Regions from separate parts of the Homo sapiens genome. Here region 1 is linked to region 2. The links are contacts of gene promoters, found by promoter capture Hi-C in blood cells and fetal thymus (Javierre and others, 2016). All regions are on one chromosome and are shown on one strand. Each heading gives the region's core, a stretch centred on a gene start or on the middle of the fragment in contact. The rest is flanking DNA. Distances are from core to core; before and after follow the strand shown. Region 1 has its middle 12 kb from the start of BNIP2. Region 2 holds the start of ICE2 (interactor of little elongation complex ELL subunit 2).

Region 1 (3,449 bases), core at 275-2,774, 780 kb before region 2:
GAAAAAAGCAGTTTGTTTGATTGATTGATAATTTTAGTAGTGATAATGTTTTTTAAATTATTTTTGGGGTGGGTAAGTGGAAGTAAGAATTGATCAACTAAAGCTAACTGTTTTGCGGTCAGTTTCAGTCTCCTTATCCAGATTAACACAAAATTAGATATAACACTGTCCTTCATCAAAGCATTAATCATTCATTCTGCATCTTTAGAGTCAAAGTGCAATCTTATTTGTTTAGAGAAAACAAATGCATTTCAAAATACACAAGTAATTGTTGGGTCAATTGGAAATTTTATTACATTTAACAAAACAAAGCACTGATATGGCTCTATGTAAGGCACATGCATTTTTATTTAATACAAATATAAAAATTAAAAGGTGGCATCTAATTCACTGTTGCAATGGGTAAATGTTCTACAAGTATATTTCCAAAAATAGTTTACATCCTAAAAGTAACTTACTCAGCTGAGAGAATCTAGGTTATTGTTTGTATTTTGAAACATGGGAACTCTGTAAATTGATAAAAATGTACTGAGTTTTAAAAATGAATTTCAGTATAACTGAGAAGAAAATATTAAAATTGTAACATTATTTCTCATTTATGTGGTTCCTTTATGATAAAGAAGGAGAAACACCTTCTCCTAATACAATTGCTAAAACACCAAATTGTACTTACTAGGAAAAAGAAGAAAGCTTTCCAATTTCAGGTATATACATAATAGGGAGAAATGAAATGCGAAGTTTAGTATGAATTATCTTCTTTAAAAGATCCTTAATATCTAACATCTAGATTCTTTTTTTTTAGTGGAATACTAATTCCTTAGCAGATTACTCATTTAATATGAATGATTTTAATGTAAGACATAAACACACACATACATGAATGAGATGCCATTCCATCTATATGCCTTGTGTGTAGTTTGAGGTATGGGGGCAGGATTTGAATCAGTAAGATGACTGATGCCTGAAATTACATTATTCATCTTTCCTTAATTAGCTTATGACACTGATCCATGTTAAAATGCAATTCTTTTTCATAGAAGGGCTCAACACATAAACCTTATGCTAAAATGGAAGGCGTGCGAACTTGGTTGGAGTTAGGAGAAGCATTTTAATTATTATTTTTCTATAGTCTCTGTGACCTTAGGCAAGTTACCTAACTTCCCCTGACATTGTTTCCTTATCATTAATTTCTGACGTACCTATGACTCATCTAAGTTAGCATTGTGCCTGAAGCTGAGATGATTATTTCCTTGATTTTTAGAAATTCACTAAAATGTTATGTGAATGTTTAAGTACAAGCATCTGAAAATTATATTTTACATGTCTATATTCTGTCTTTTCAAAAAATGGCATAACACAAGAAGACCATCCAAATATGTACATAATTCCACACCAGGTAATAGGAAAGATTTTAAAAATCTGAATATTTACAAAGTATTTTGGCATTTACAGTTTTCAGGTTTGCACAGTATAGGTGAAAGAGCCCTGAACTCAGAATCAGCAAATTTTCTTTAAAATTTCAATCCGACCATTGAATTTGTAGATCCTCCTCCCCCTACTCCCTCCCACTTCATTCCTATCTGCGTTACCTAAGACTAGAAACCAGGCAACAACATATGAAGAAACAGATGACAGTTTCAGGCATTCCCTTGAACTGATTGTTTTTTGTTTAAGTCCCATTCTGAAAATGCAGAATTCCTTCAAAGTTTTGTCTATAAGACTGCCTCTTCTTTTTTGTTCTTTTTTTTTTTTTTTTTTGAGACGGAGTCTCGCTGTGTTGCCCCAGCTGGAGTGCAATGGCGTGGTCTCTGCTCACTGCAACCTCTGCCTCCCAGGTTCAAGCAATTCTCCTACCCCAGCCTCCCGAGTAGCTGGGATTACAGGCCTGTGCCACCATGCCCGGTTAATTTTTGTATTTTTAGTAGAGACAGAGTTTCACCATGTTGGCCAGGATGGTCTTGGACTCCTGGCCTCAAGCGATCTGCCCGCCTCGGCCTCCCAAAGTCCTGGGATTACAGATGTGAGCCACCACGCCTGGCCAAGACTGCCTCTTCTTGTAATAGTTTTTGCTTCAGTTCCTTATCCAACCTGGTGGTATAGAGAACACATGCTGAAATGTAATCACTTGAAACTTGCTCTTTTTTTCATTTTAATAATTGTTTTTTGTGTTTTGACTATTAAAAAAACCACTCCCTAGCAAATGAATTTCTTGGCTCAGCTATATATATTTGTAAAGTATTAATAAAAACGTGTGTATTTTTAGGTTCTTCTAGCTAGGGTACAATATATTTCCGAAGGTGTCCTAGGGACCTCTTAAATAAGGAATCTTTTTGTTAAATTAACAAATCTATTCAAAATTAAGCTTCTTATTTCTGTTTATTTATTTTTTTTAAGTCACAGGTTGTGGTCTTCACTGCCCATCTTCTCCTACACCCTTATAAAATGGTTTGGTATTTCATTTTTGATCTAGGAAAGAATAATTCATTTTTATCTTCATTTAATTTTAATAGTCAAGGAGTAGTCTATAAAGATTGAATAAATTTAATCCTTCTGCAATTAGTGTCAAGTTAATTCATTCTGGATGTGAATAACTGAAGAAATACAGACCCTCCCACACACTGACAGACACCTTTATCAGGTGTAATGTTTTATGTAAATGATTCTACTTGAAAGGAAGTTGTCTTGTTTCTCCCTCCTCCCTTTCTGTCCTTGTTAATTGTTTTTAAACCTAAACTTTCTCTCCGCATTTTCTCAGGACTATAGTACCATTCACTGGATCAACTGTGTTGATCCTACAAAGGTAACACATTTTGCCGCTGATTTGACTCCTTTGCACAGAGAAATTCTTCAGTTTTTCCCCTCTCATAAAAGTTCACAACCATGTAACTTCTGTGGGTTGCTCCAGCAAGGATATGATCAGACCTCATGAGGATTAAAAGGATCTGGGTATGTCTCGTGTGCAGCAAGCAGATAGGATTATTGTAAGCAGCCTTTTGTCTCGCCCAACACGATCCATCTGAATCATCCCAGATTTGATCAACCCAGAGATGACTTCTCTGAGCCAGAATATTTTCCCTCCTATGGAGAAGCCAAGATACAAAAATCTATCAGGCAGGTTAACATCTAAAACACTTAAAATAACCTTTCTGCTTTTTTTCCATTAAAATCAACACTTGAGGTTATATAGCTGGTGTTCATATAGATTTTAAAATGAACCACCTTAATACATAAGGAATATAACAATCTAATATACTTTTAATTTCAGTGCAGCTATAAAGGCATACTGGCTATTACTAACATGACTCATCAAGTTTTTTTAAAAGATAATTTAGTTATCTCTTGTCAAGTCACTATTTAATGTTACTTTCTACATTTGCTGTGATAAGCATTAAAATCTATATATTGGTTGATAAATCATTGTTTAGGAGTGTCTAAAGGGTACAGTAAAT
Region 2 (3,197 bases), core at 277-2,776:
TGGAAATGGGCCAAGGTTCTTGGACTCAAGAAAATTCCAGTATCTCTCCTTCACAGGAGACCAACAATAAATACCTGAGGGAATTATACCTAAAAATAATTTGAGTGCTGAACTGTGTTGTTCCACTATAGGAGTGGAAGTACAGTCAGCCATAACTCTAGCATTCCGTATGTGAAGATGAGGATAGGGTAAATTCTGAGACCCTAAACTTGTATTTTCTGTTTCCTCCAAATCTCTCTATGCCAGAAATCTATTTTCTTATGTCAACCATCAGCCCCACTACACTCCTCTTCAGTGGATTACAAAGTGGCTACAACTCACCAATTCAGTCCTGGTTCACTTATGACCATCTTGGAGCTCATCTTCCTAGATTTCTGCTTCACTCTAGCTCACAGTTCACAGCTGCCTGGCTGCGAAGGCTCCAAGAGGCAGGATCCCTCCAGAACTTACTCAGCTGAGTAAAAACAAAAGGCCAAGATCAAAAGCAAGTGATTGGCTAGGCCAGGTGCTATTAGGTGAGGAAGAATCTCTCCCTAAACATCTACCCTCAACAGACTGTGGCACCTAAAACAGAATACAGCAGACCCAAGGTTCTTTGTAGCAGAGCAGCAATGACGATACAGGACGAGCCCTTTTCCATTTAATCTACGCCGGGAGTGTTACTCTCAGGACACTCACTATGGAAATAAGAGCTGAAACAGAACGGTGTTCTCATTGCTTACATACTAGGCCACTTGATGGCATGGAACGGGAAGTCAACTCAGTTTTCCATTCCCTTACTGCCAAAATAAATCTTTTGTTTTCCCGACCATGCTTTGTTATGGGGCAGATTCTGGCAGGCACTTTATGACAAAAGCTACCTCGATATCAGGAATCTTAGGCCTTTCACAAAGAACCTCACATTTGAGAAGACTTGAGGTCAACTTAAGTGACATTTCACAAGATCACTTACAGACATCATCAGGACTACAAATCAGGCTTGATCTCTCATGTTCAGTACTTCTCCTGTGACCCCAGGCAGACTGATAAAGTGACCTGCGAGAACCTAATCAAATTTAGGAGTCGGTCTCTCGACACCGAACGGGCCCGACCGGCTCCCACTTAATCTACCTCTCACACTTCGACCCAGTGTGGAGCTGGGGGGGAATAGTCGAGGAAGGCAAAAGAAACGGCTGAGGGAAAGGGGACGCAAAGAGAGGGGAAACAAGGTTCCAGAAAAGCAGGTAAAAGGGCAAGCAAAGCAGGGGTAGGAGCCGCGCAGAGCCAGGAGCAAAGGGTCCTGGCCCGGCCGCCATGTTCCCTCCTCCCGCCCCTGCATGAGCACGCCCGCTGGCCCGGCAGCGCCCTCCCGTCCGCGTCTGGGCTGCAACACAGCCTTTCCGCCCACCTCATGGTCCGCGGCGGCTCTTGCCCAGGCCGCAGCCACACACCACACACGCTCCACCCCACTCCTCACATTGTCGCGCGCGCCCAAAAAAGACCATATTTAAAGGATGTGGCCGCGCCGACTCGGCCCTGCGTGATGACGTCTCAGCGACATAGTGGGCGGGGCCTTGCGTCTTGACGGCTGCTCCCCTCCTTTCCTCCCGCCACAAGCGCTCGCTGTGGTTCTGGCAGCGAAGTGCGAGACTGGGCTCGCCAGGCGGAAGTGGTTGGAGACTGCGTGTTTTCCTAGAAAGTCCTCGACCTTCGTCGGGGAGAGGAGGGGAGTGATAAATTGGAAGGCGGACAAGCGACAAGTGCGGTACTGGAAAGACCCAAACATACTTGGTTGTGACCTCAGGCAAGTTTCCTGACTTCCGTAACCCAAACTCCTCATATGTAAAATGGAGATGAAATTGTTACTGCTGCATCATACGGTTTTTTGGAAAGGATTAAATGAAACAAAGGAAGAAGCTGTGCTCTGCACAGTACCTGGCACATAGTAGGGCCTCATTAAGTGCTCCTTCACCTCCGCTCCACTCCCCATCCAGTTTTAGCTGTGAGTTCAAACACTAGTTTTGTTCTCATCCATTACGGAAAGATTTATTGACCGTAAACAGAGTACTTTGTGCTTGGTGCTGGGTACACATGGACTAAGACTGAATACTGATTTTTCCAGTGCTTTGGATCTCTGGCAATCTAAGACATTTACATTAAATACAATAGAAAGTAATAAACTACATAAGAAAGGTGTATAGATTGAGGTTAGAGGGAGAGGAATAGCTAGTGTGAGGGACAAAACGCAGTTTTGAATAGTATTGAGTACTTACATGTCAGTTGCTGCACTGAGCACCTGCCGTGTGAGCTCATTTGAAGAATGTGGGTATGTGGAATGAAGAGAAAGGGCGTTCTAGACAGACCAGCACAAGTGTCAAAAGACAAAAATTTGACACATCTAAAGATCTCAGTTGGCCTTATTGCGATTCTGGAATCAGGCAACACTTCATTCCATAAAATGGAATGAGTGTCCCAATGAGTGGAACAGAGGAGGTTGGCATTACGGACAGAAAAAAGGTCTGTAGAAAGTAGAAACAAAGAACAAAAAGCAGATTGATCATTTCAAAGTTACTTTCCTGGTAAGGTGGAGACAGACAGTACAATAGAAAGATAACTGATTGGTTAACATCAGGTTACTTCAAGTTACTCTTTGCTGTAGGGACTAAAACAGAGGAAATTCATTATCTTGCTGATTGAAAATTGAAACTGGCCTGTTACCTCTGTCTCCTGATTTCTTGGAGGGCCACATAACTCAGTTTCGGTGTGGTGAGCCTGAGTGATACCATTTTTATTTTAGTCTGGTCTCTTGGGGTCTAGTGCAGAAGTTCTAAACAATGGCCTCCTATAATTTTTTTTAATACAAGGAACTGCATAAACTTATTGCATAAACAGAATCTAGTGTGTGCTATTAGGGAAGCATGTTCTACATTTTATTTTAAGACAGAGTCTCCCAGACTGGAGTGCAGTGGTGTGATCTCAGCTCACTGCAACTTCTGCCACCTGGGTTCAAGCGATTCTCCTGCGTCAGTCTCCCTAGTAGCTGGGACTACAAGTGCATGCCACCACACTTGGCTAATTTTTGTATTTTTTTTTTAGTAGAGATGGGGTTTGCCAGGGTGATCTTTAACTCTTGACCTCAAGTGATCTGCCCACCTTGGCCTCCCTAAGTGCTGGGATTACAGGTGTGAGCCACTACCCCTGGCTGACATTTTAGACTG

Evidence for each region. The method cuts DNA at HindIII sites, captures the fragments that hold promoters and counts their contacts. A CHiCAGO score of 5 or more calls a contact.
Region 1: a contact is called between a fragment that was not itself captured here and the fragment with the promoter of ICE2 in region 2, in 3 of 17 cell types (fetal thymus, M2 macrophages and monocytes). The highest score is 5.8, in fetal thymus.

The regions. Positions count from the first base shown.
Region 1 is chr15:59,699,102-59,702,550 of GRCh38, forward strand. No RefSeq gene overlaps it. Among named protein-coding and RNA genes, the nearest start is that of BNIP2, 12 kb to the left of the region's middle. The HindIII fragment of the contact is 1,672 bases long and covers 689-2,360 here.
Region 2 is chr15:60,477,616-60,480,812 of GRCh38, forward strand. ICE2 (interactor of little elongation complex ELL subunit 2) reads right to left here and starts at 1,527. Exons shown (of 16, transcript NM_024611.6): 1 at 1,388-1,527; 2 at 322-454. The coding sequence starts at 362. It overlaps RORA-AS1 (RORA antisense RNA 1), which reads left to right and starts at 1,563. Exons shown (of 6, transcript NR_120342.1): 1 at 1,563-1,783. RefSeq lists enhancers at 359-478, 801-1,328. The HindIII fragment of the contact is 13,398 bases long and covers 1-3,197 here.